Linked DNA regions of Homo sapiens: regions 2 and 3 are each linked to region 1. The links are contacts of gene promoters, found by promoter capture Hi-C in blood cells and fetal thymus (Javierre and others, 2016). All regions are on one chromosome and are shown on one strand. The core of a region is centred on a gene start or on the middle of the fragment in contact, and the rest is flanking DNA. Distances in the headings are between cores, read along the strand shown. Region 1 holds the start of MIEN1 (migration and invasion enhancer 1). Region 2 holds the start of PSMD3 (proteasome 26S subunit, non-ATPase 3). Region 3 overlaps IKZF3 (IKAROS family zinc finger 3).

What was found. Contacts are between HindIII fragments. The CHiCAGO score rates a contact against its expected background, and 5 or more counts as called.
Region 2: the fragment with the promoter of PSMD3 here is called in contact with the fragment with the promoter of MIEN1 in region 1 in 5 of 17 cell types (activated CD4 T cells, fetal thymus, naive B cells and 2 more); the score reaches 7.3 in activated CD4 T cells.
Region 3: a fragment that was not itself captured here is called in contact with the fragment with the promoter of MIEN1 in region 1 in 4 of 17 cell types (activated CD4 T cells, naive CD4 T cells, total CD8 T cells and 1 more); the score reaches 6.1 in activated CD4 T cells.

Annotation. Positions count from the first base shown.
Region 1 is chr17:39,728,879-39,732,506 of GRCh38, reverse strand. MIEN1 (migration and invasion enhancer 1) reads left to right here and starts at 1,975. Exons shown (of 4, transcript NM_032339.5): 1 at 1,975-2,100; 2 at 2,216-2,313; 3 at 2,746-2,822; 4 at 2,902-3,628. The coding sequence starts at 2,012. The coding sequence ends at 2,985. RefSeq lists a silencer at 1,734-2,293. The HindIII fragment of the contact is 2,975 bases long and covers 769-3,628 here.
Region 2 is chr17:39,978,812-39,982,439 of GRCh38, reverse strand. PSMD3 (proteasome 26S subunit, non-ATPase 3) reads right to left here and starts at 1,633. Exons shown (of 12, transcript NM_002809.4): 1 at 1,250-1,633. The coding sequence starts at 1,469. RefSeq lists a silencer at 1,293-1,342 and enhancers at 745-1,722, 1,523-1,802, 2,023-2,202, 2,624-3,628. The HindIII fragment of the contact is 5,666 bases long and covers 1-3,290 here.
Region 3 is chr17:39,859,439-39,863,066 of GRCh38, reverse strand. The region is part of intron 1 of IKZF3 (IKAROS family zinc finger 3); the gene reads left to right. Among named protein-coding and RNA genes, the nearest start is that of IKZF3, 3.1 kb to the left of the region's middle. RefSeq lists an enhancer at 1,492-1,651. The HindIII fragment of the contact is 246 bases long and covers 1,885-2,130 here.

The sequences.
Region 1 (3,628 bases), core at 726-3,225:
TCACTGCATTTTCTTTCTTTTCTTTTCTTTTCTTTTTTTTTTGGAACACAGTCTCACTCTGTCACCCAGGCTGGAGTGCAGTGGTGAGATCTCAGCTCACTGCAACCTCCACCTCCCAGGTTCAAGCGATTCTCCTGCCTCAGCCTCTGGAGTAGCTGGTGCGCCACCACACCCAGCTAATTTTTGTATTTTTAGTAGAGACAGGGTTTTGTCGAGTTGGCCAGGCTGGTCTTGAACTCCTGGCGTCAAGTGATCCGCCCACCTTGGCCTCCCAAAACGCTGGGATTACAGGTGTGAGCCACTACGACCTGCCTGGTTTAAAAAAAAAAAAAATGAGCCCGGGTGCAGTGGTTCACACCTGTAATCCCAGCACTTTGGGAGGCCAAGATGGGCAGATCACAACTTCAGGAGTTCGAGACCAGCCTGGCCAACATGGTGAAACCCCATCTGTACTAAAAATAGAAAAATTAGCTGGCTTGGTGGTGGGCACCTGTAATCCCAGCTGCTCAGGAGGCTGAGACAGGAGACTCACTTGAGGCCGGAAGGCAGAGGTTGCAGTAAGCCGAGATCGCACCATTGCACTCCAGCCTGGCCAACAGAGCAAGACTCTGTCTCAAAAAAATAATAATAATAGTAATACAAAAGTTAGCTGGGCGTGGTGGCTGGCACCTATGATCTCAGCTACTAGGGAGACTGAGGCAGGAGAATCGCCTGAACCCAGGAGGTGGAGGTTGCAGTGAGCCAAGATCGCGCCACTGCACTCAAGCTTGGGTGACAGAGTGAGACTCCATCTCAAAATAAATAAATAAATAAATAAATAGCCTAAAGGGACACTAGAGTGGGTGGCGTGTTAGGATACCATAGTGGTACTGTAGGCAGGGAAAAGGCAGCGAGGACTTGTGCAGACTCCATTTCCAGAGCTGCAAAATGGGAATAATGACGCCAGCCCCCCAGTGAGAGGCTGGATGAGAAGGGATGCGCAGAAACTGTTGGGGGCACAGAGCCTGAAGAGCATCTACTGTTTTCCAGTGCAGGCAAGAAGCAGCTGCAAAAGACTGGAAAAAGCAGTTTAGAGCTTTGGGATCAGAAACACTTGTGTATGTAACTACAGGGTGGTTCCAAATGCCATCAGCACCGGGCGTGGTGGCTCACGCCTGTAATCCCAGCACTTTGGGAGGCCAAGGCAGGCAGATCATTTGAGGTCAGGAGTTCGAGACCAGTCTGGCGAACATGGTGAAACCCTGTCTCTACTAAAACAAACAAACAAACAAACAAAAAACTGGGCCAGGCGCGGTGGCTCATGTCTGTAATTCCAGCACTTTAGGAGGCCGAGGCTGGTGGATCACCTGAGGTCAAGAGTTCGAGACCAGCCTGACCAACATGATGAAACCCTGTCTCTACTAAGAATACAAAATTAACCGGGTGCGGTGGCACGCGCCTGTAGTCCCAGCTACTCGGGAAGCTGAGGCAGAAGAATCGCTTGAACCCGGGAGGCAGAGGTTGCAGTGAACCGAGATCGCGCCATTGCACTCCAGCCTGGGCAACAAGAGCGAAACTCCGTCTCAAAAAAAAAAAAAAAAAAAATGCCATCGGCATGTTAGCGAGAAAATGTCAACTATTTCATGCATCAGCCACACCCACCCCCATCCCCAGGATGCTTGCCCCACCACTTTCTCTTTCTTTTGTAAACTGAAAAGCGCTTTGCAGTCTAAGATAGTCCATTAGAGTAAATGAAGCCATGAAGTCCAGCGGACACCGGGAGTGGGGAGTGGGGAAGCCCGGCACTCCGGGAGACCGGGCCAGGGAAGGAGGGTCTGGACCGGACCCAGCCCCTGCCCGGGGAGCGAGCTCCGGAGCTGCCCTACGAGGTCAAAACGTAGCAGTGGCGGAGACCCGCAGGGGGCGCCCGAACGCCACCCTCGGCCCCTCCCCGCTCCAGAGGCCCCGCCCCGTCACGTGCCCGCGGTTCGCGTCACACCCGGAAGCAGGGGCCCGAGCGGAGCCGGCCGCGATGAGCGGGGAGCCGGGGCAGACGTCCGTAGCGCCCCCTCCCGAGGAGGTCGAGCCGGGCAGTGGGGTCCGCATCGTGGTGGAGTACTGGTGAGCGGCCCCGGCTGGAGGACCCGCACCCTGGTCCCGCGGGCCGGACGGAGGTGGGTCCACGGGAGGCCCCACCCCCGAATCCCCAGCCCAGCCCCATCTCTTGACTCCCCAGTGAACCCTGCGGCTTCGAGGCGACCTACCTGGAGCTGGCCAGTGCTGTGAAGGAGCAGTATCCGGGCATCGAGATCGAGTCGCGCCTCGGGGGCACAGGTGAGGCTCGCAGAACACCTGCTGGGTCAGTCTGTGCTCTGAATCCCAGCTCTCCCGCTTTCTAGTTCTGACATTGGCTGCTTTATGTAAAGTGCCCGCAGTGCCTGGCACATGGTAAAATGTCCGGCCAACATGAGTTCCCTTCCATAGGTCAGGGGGTGTCACAGAGGCCTGTGGGGAAAAACCTATTAGACTGCAATCGTGTAGGGTTGGAGGGGAGGGAGTCCTTTATTGAGTGTTGCGAGGGGCACACAGGCGAGGCCTCCCTCAGGTTCCCTGGAGTTGACCCAGGGTTGGGGAATTGCTTAAGGAGCTACAAATGGGTCTCCAGTGGGATTGATGGGGGACTTGAAGGCGGGGGACCCCTTTGGAGGAACTCCTGACTTCTGCCTATGTTCTCAGTGTACCATTTATCTGTTGATTTCTTACCAGGTGCCTTTGAGATAGAGATAAATGGACAGCTGGTGTTCTCCAAGCTGGAGAATGGGGGCTTTCCCTATGAGAAAGATGTGAGTATTTACAGCGTTGGGAGGACCTCTTGGTCACCCTACCCCAACAGTGCATCATCCTGTCATTCCACTCCTCTAGCTCATTGAGGCCATCCGAAGAGCCAGTAATGGAGAAACCCTAGAAAAGATCACCAACAGCCGTCCTCCCTGCGTCATCCTGTGACTGCACAGGACTCTGGGTTCCTGCTCTGTTCTGGGGTCCAAACCTTGGTCTCCCTTTGGTCCTGCTGGGAGCTCCCCCTGCCTCTTTCCCCTACTTAGCTCCTTAGCAAAGAGACCCTGGCCTCCACTTTGCCCTTTGGGTACAAAGAAGGAATAGAAGATTCCGTGGCCTTGGGGGCAGGAGAGAGACACTCTCCATGAACACTTCTCCAGCCACCTCATACCCCCTTCCCAGGGTAAGTGCCCACGAAAGCCCAGTCCACTCTTCGCCTCGGTAATACCTGTCTGATGCCACAGATTTTATTTATTCTCCCCTAACCCAGGGCAATGTCAGCTATTGGCAGTAAAGTGGCGCTACAAACACTAATGCTAACTAGTGTGTGTTTTTATACGTCCAGTCTGGGAATGTGGGGGGCACAGAAGTCCGGTCAGCCCAGCCTTTGCACCGCCAGGGTGGCTGTGCTGGCTGGGTGGGCTTTCTGGACAGCTACTCCTTAGGTCAGTGAGCTCCTCTGGCATAGCCAAGGCAAGGAAAATGAGTCCCACAGTAGACCCTGCCTCGTCTTTCCCCCACCCTACCCACCACTCTCCTCACTCACAAGGAGGAAATAACCCCATTCTGGTGAGTGGCCTTAGGAATTAGT
Region 2 (3,628 bases), core at 384-2,883, 250 kb before region 1:
ACTTGCTCTCAATTATAGGAGAACAGCTCAAAAATTCACAAGAAAAAATGTTAACCATGTTTTTTATCCCCTGCTTTTAACTTCTCATACATTCCACAATTTCTGCAATGAATATGAATTACTTTACAAGAAGAAAATGAAGTGCCTGTAATAAACACACCCAGTAGGCAATGCTGAGTGGCACCTTTGACATTGCTGCCACTACTTTAGGTAAAAGGATCTCTATTAAATATCGATCCTGTTGCTCAACTTTACAGTAAGAGCTGATGTAGTCAACACCATCACATCCTCAAAAGCACCACCTAGGAGGATAACTTTGCTTATCTCAATGTTTTTGAGCTAGTTTCTCACGCATTTTAGTGAAAAGAAAACCTAGTAAGTAGTCTGGTCCCACTTGATCCAGAACCAGGAAAATGGCACCAGGATCACAGTGGGAAGCTCTCACTTTGCCCACTTCAAATGGAAACAGGACGCTGTAAGTGGGAAAAGTAAAACATGAACTTGGAGGAACAAGAGGACTACAGACACTCGAAACAGGAACCTCGGAGAAAAGAAATAGGAGACACCGGTATATAGGAGTTTAGGCCAAAGGTTGAGTATTACAAAACCAAACAAAGATGACACCCGAAAAGTTTTAAGTGTGTATGTACTTAAACCCTTTAGAAACAGAGGGGCAGTAAGGACCTGAAGGGAGGAGACAGCAAGGGGACTGTTGGGACACTTCAGTTAGAGAAGTAGGAAACAAGATACTAGGTCGAAATGGTTCATTCGGGGGAGTGTGCTAAAGGCAGCTAGGACAACAAAAATCTGCTGTACAGTTTTAAAACTCAGGAGTCAATATTCTAGGTCATCCTGGCCCTGTTTACACACAGACACAAACACTGGTTTCCAGCGGGAACAATCAGTCATATATTGGAGGCGCTAAAATCAGTCGGGTGGGATATAAACGGAATAGGTCAGAGGGGAGGACTTAAAAGAGGGAGTCCCCAGGCCCACTGGGACCTAGATATAGATGCAACCCCAGATATGGGGATGGAGGGGATGGGAGGGGAGTGGTTCCCAGCCTGGAGAGAAGGTTCAGTCATTGGGCCTGGAGTCGGGAGTGTCGGGGCAGTGGGAGCAGGTATCTGGGGGTGATCCCAAAGAACTGAGGGTGGTGGAGGCTGCTGTGGCTTCCCAGCAAGAAGCCAAATCACAGGGGTCGCTGTCACCCGCGATCGCGGCACGTTCCCGGCCTGGGCTGCCGTACCCTCCAAGGTGACTGTGTCCAGCTCTCGCTGGGAGTGCTCAGCCGCTGCCGCCGCCGTCTTGCCGTCTGCCTCCCCCGTCGACCCGCCACCCGTCGCTGCCTCCTCTTTCATCTCCACATCCTGGGGGGCCGGCGGCGGTGGGGGTTCTTGTTCTCCTCCGCCGGGCGGCGGTTTCGCCTTGTCCGCGCCGCGGCGCCGCGCCGAGCCCTCCTGCTTCATGGCACCCGGGGTCACGGCCTAGTCCGGGGACCGAGGCCGGGGCCTCGCGTTAACCCTCGCACCGGGGACCAGGAGCCGAGCCGGGCCTGCACACGAGCGCGAGATAGCGTCGGGCCGCACGATGACGGAGCAGCTGCAAACCCCTTCCCGGCGCTGGGCCTTCTGGGAAACGCCAGGCCCGGCAGGCCGATGGCCGAGTCAACAAAGGGGAAATAAATCCACAGCCGAGGTGCAGGATGAAGGAGGAGCTTCGAGGAAGGAGCGGGGAGGAGCCTTTATGGGTTCGTGGGGCTTTCTTTCGAGCGCTTAAGTGTGATGCTTTTATGTTCCTCTCGAGTGCATTTCTGTGGGCGTCCACGAGAGGTCCCCTCAGGCTCCAATCTGGGTTACAAAGGACTTTAAGAGCGCCTCAACCAGCGTGGAGTGGGTACAGCCTATCCGAGCGCGGGACGAGATGACGTCACGAGTTGCCGGGCGGGTTTTGCGCCCAAGTTCGCTCAATTTTCCCCGGTCGCGGCGGGGTCTCCTTCCAGATCCGCTGGGCTTGTGCTCAACGGCTGCCGGGCGCATCCGGCAGGAGGGAAGGAAAGAAGGCTGTGAAGGAGGGACGTGAAGCTAGGGCTGTTGGCCTTAAAATAAACCGAACTGGAGAGTAGGAAGAACCCTATGGGATCCGGACTTCCTTGGTTAGATTTGAGTTTAGTGCTGAACATAAGGCATACAATTTCTGCAGGCTGGGAGTGCCGATAGGTAGGAGCGTGCATTTGCGTAGAATCACTCCAGTTTAACAAAATATAGGGGTCCACCCTATGTACGGCCCACGGTTAGCAAATAGGGGGGTGAAAAACAGCTCAAGAATGTAGTATACGGGGGAGTCAGATGGTTAGATAAGCAGACACTGTGCTCTGGGCTGCGGTGGATTGGGAGTGTTGAGGAAAGAGGGTGGGAGCCCCTACTGGCAGACGCTTTAGGGAGCCCATTGAGAGGGCTTTTATACATCCAGACAGACATTGTGAAATGGGGAACAGAATAATGGTGTGCCTAAGGAGAGAATGATGGTTTACTTAGTGGTGTACCTAAGGGGAAGCAAATTGGACAAGAAACCCTACCCACTTATTTTTCAAAGGACTGCCCCACTGGTTCTGCAGGGAAGGTGAAACAAGGTGAAGGATATAGCTCCCAATTTCTTAGAACACACAACAAAAACTCTCTCCCTACCTTGAAACTTTTCTCTCTCCCATAAGTGGAAGTCCTGAGTTTTAGACCTTTCACGGACCCTACAAGACAATCTAGCCCTGTTGTAAGGACCTAGAAGGCAGGAAATATGTTTTGACCTCCTCCTTTGCATATATAAAGGGTATCCTGCATATCTTTTGCATCCTCTTTCATAGGATTGCAGGATGTTCCTTGCGTTAAACAGCCACTCGCTAACTGGAAAGATATGTGCTCTAGTTTTAGGGAACATGCCTTGACCAGTTCCTCCTCAACTGTCCTCTCACCCTCCAGGGCTGGGGGGTGGATAACAGGACTTTTGAATCATCATTGGAATAAACTCATTAGAACCTCTTCATAACACCATATCTGCAACTGAAGGTGGGCGAGAATGGTAAGGAAGAAAACAGATGAGTTATGTTCATCCTTAACAATCAAAGGAGTTACTCTTCTAGATAGTTAGGGTGTTAGCTCATCTCTCTATTAAGTTTACATCACAAGGAGAAAACAACCAAGTCAGCAGATAACAACCCAGTATATCCATGAGCAATAGAGTGAGGCTTTGGAAGGTGCTCAGGATCAGGGAGGCTGGCGGCATAACACAAAGCTTCTGGCAGTTGGTCATGAATTCTTGGTGGATGAGGGAACCAGGCTGGGCAGGGGGTGACTAAGACACTGGGGGAGAGTCTGACTCCACGGACCAAAATCCTTAGAGAAATTCTTCCACTCATAAAACTTTTTTTTTTTTTTAAACGGAATCTCGTTCTGTTGGCCAGGCTAGGGAGTACAGTGTCGTGATCTTGGCTCACTGCAACCTCCCCCTCTGGGGTTCAAGCGATTCTCCTGCCTCCTTCTCCTGAGTAGCTGGGACTACAGGTGCGAGCCACCATGTCCAGCTAATTTTTAATTTTTTTTTTTTTAATTTTTAGTAGAGACAGGGCTTCACT
Region 3 (3,628 bases), core at 758-3,257, 130 kb before region 1:
AAATAATTTTTGAAAAGCTCATATGCTTTAATTATTACAAATGATTAATTTGTTTTTATGAAATTATAAATCAGTACTCCAACACTATTTTTCCTAGCCGTAACCATACCACGTATCAAGGATAATGTACAGAATCATGTAAATCCATAGAAACTGGAGTATTTCTCTATAAATGTTAATACTTCCAAATTCATTTATTTAATGTGCAATAAAGAAACTAAATAGCATATCTTAGGTTATTGGTGTACTAACACAGATGTTTAATAAGCCTGAAGACTCCCTTAAGAAGAAAAGAATGAAAACTTGTGTAGAATTTAATTTAGAGTGTGTAGACTATAAATGGAAAGAGAATGTAGATCAATAACTTTTTAAAGTTGTGTTTACATGATTAGATTAAATCTATAGGTCCATGGAGATAGATAGTATAGATTATGCTTAATGAAAAAACTTTAACATTTAAATTTTAAAAAGAGGTTAATTATATGAATTTGGCTATTTTAATGTCAGGTCCTTGCGTATAGAGTATTTGATGTGGTAAAATATCTGGTTCATTATAGCTACCCAAAATAGACTAATCTGGCCCATGTTTTTGATATTTAAAAAATTTTTATATCATCTTGTGGTTTTGATCTCAGTCTAGATTAGAGATTTGGTCTATAGTGTATACCTCTCTTGGCAATGTAAGAAAGTAGAATACTTCATGGAATACCTTTATTTTCTGCCCAATTTGGGGGTCACATTGATTCATAACAGTTTATTGTACAATGCAATACTGTATATCATTCCTTCAGCATATAAAGTCATTTAACAAATTCATTTATCTTTTAATTAATTTATTGAGACTTTCTATGTATGAAGATGTCAGATGAATAAGCTTTTGAAATAGAAATCTTGTAGAAATGAAGATTTAATGAATATACTAAAATCAGAAGCTATAACTTTTTAATTTTCTCACAATCTGTGACCTTAAATATTTTCTACCCAAAGACTGTTTATGAATCACTAAATTTTATTATTTGTACTATAACATCTCTTCTGTCTGTTATGGTCGGGAAATGAGGTGGTTCACAAACATGAATTTCACAGGTAATGGCAGACTTCTTATTTAATGTAAAACATTTTTATTTTTAACAATATTGAGTAAAGATTTTTCTAAGTATATTTATTACACAGCTCCCTGCTTTATAAGCAAGGTACATAAGAGATAAGTTTATCTCGGCAACTCTGAGTTACTGTTCTCACCATCAGATCATATATTATTCCATAATATATTCTCACAGGGGTTTTGAGCTGAATGCCCCTACACCAAACATACCTAGGATATTGTACAATTTTTGTCTCCTTCTTGATGTCAGCTTATATTTCTTACCACATAGATTTTGTGGTAGTAGGGTTTTGTTTCAGGTCCCTTTCCATGTTCTGGATGGCTGAGATTAACAGAGATAAAGCCTGTAGATGATGGAATCTGTTTGCCCTCCATTGTGAGCGTATGGAGGATGAAATGCGAAGGTTTTAAGAAACAAAAGCCACAGAAAGGCCGTGGCGTCCTGGTAGAACATAATTTTTCAAAATTCCTGTTTGTACTTCCTTTAATCCAGTATGCTATTTCATGCTTCCATGTCTTTGCTATTATGTTCACCCATTCTCTACTTGCTTATGCCTACTCATCTTTCAAGACTCTGCTCAGGCATCATCGCCATGAAGGCTCTCTGATGACCTTCTTCTGATGACCTCCTCCTAGTGCCTTCTGGTGATCACCCCTACCCAGTCTCTCATGTTCCTTCACCTCAGCTAAGGGCCTCTCCTTTCTGTGTATACTTCTACCACATTGTGTTGAAATTATTTATTGATGTAGGTGTTTATTCCCCCTCTGGTCTTTAAGCTTCTGGAGAACAGAGACTGTGTCTTGTTTTTGTACACTGAATGCGAAGGACAGTTTCTGGTTCATAGAAGGCCCTCAGAATTTGTTGCATTCAATTAAAATAGTGCTGAAAAAGTACTTTTTATTATGTTTATTGTGATGCATTTTATTTAAATAAATTTTTAAAGTAGGAGATTGGGGCTAGTAATTCTTTGATAAAGCTCAGTAATTTTTTAAGCACTTAAACTGTATAATTGAAAAAGAAAGCTTGGAAAACAAAAATGTTATTGGATATTTTTTGCTAGACTGTCACTTAAAGCCAATTTTAACAAAATTAGATTTAGGGGGTACATGTGCAGGTTTCTTACATAAGTATATTATGTGATGCTGAGGATTGGGCTTCTATTGATCCTGTCACCCAAATAATGAGCATAGTGTCCTATAGGTAGTTTTTCAACCCTTGCCCTCCTCCCACCCTTCCCCATTTTGGGGTCATCAGTGTCTAATTTGGGGGTCACATTAATTCATAACAGTCCATGTGTACCCAGTGTTTAGCTCCCCGTCATAAGTGAGAACATGCGGTATTTGGTTTTCTGTTTCTGTGTTAATTCACTAAGAATAATGGCCTCCAGCTGCATCCATGTTGTTGCAAAGGATATGATTTCATTCTTTTTTGTGTAAAGCCAAATTTTAACTGTTAAATTTACATAAGCAGATTTCAGGATCGCAATTAGTCCATTAAAATATCCATTGAATATGAGCAGAAATTTGTTTTCTCAGTCAGTAAGATATAGATGATGCCATAAAAATAGCATACGCTTTCAAGTGATACTTTAAAAATACATTGTTATAAACTTTTCATTCATATATAAATGTATATACTTACACTTATTTAGGACTAAAAGATTATTGATTATTGGTAGATCTTTTATCAGACATCCAGTTTTTTTTTTTTATTATTATTTTTAAAGAGATAGTCCTTGCTCTGTTGCCCAGGCTACCACAAACTCCTAGGCTCAGACGATCCTCCTGCCTCAACCTTCTGAGTAGCTAGGACTACAGGCATCCACCACCATAACCTGGTAATTTATTGTACAAACCGCCATGACCTGCTGATTTATTATCTTTCATTTTTTGTAGAAATGGGGGTCTCACTATGTTGGTCAGGTTGGTCTTGAATTCTTGGCCACAAGTGATCCTTCCGCCTCAACCTTCCCAAGTGCTGGGATTACAGGAGTGAGCCACTGCACCTGGCCTAGATAGATGTCCAATGATAATTGGCTCATATGTCAAGCTATAGTTCCAGACCATGTATGAGAAGAACTGAGTGATTAACACAGAAACTTGCCTATAGTAGGTGCTCAATAAATGTCTTTTGTCCTAAGGATTCATTAATTATTTTGAAAAGAGACCCTACACATCACAAGGCCATAGAATGTACTCTGCTATTTAGCCTTTATTAAATTTAGCTCCATATTAACTGGTATATTTATGATAATTAGAAATTATAAGGATGAGGCCAGGAGTGGTGGCTCACGCCTGTAATCCTAGCACTTTGGGAGGCTGAGGCGGGCAGATTGCTTGAGCCTGGGACTTCAAGACCAGCCTGGGCAACATGGTAAAACCCTGACTCTACAAAAACTACAAAAATTAGCCAGGTGTGGTAGCACATGCCTGTAGTAACAGCTACTTGGAAGGCTGAGGTAGGAAGATGGCTTGAGCCTGGGAGGTCGAGGCTACCGTGAGCCATGAGCATGCCACTGCACT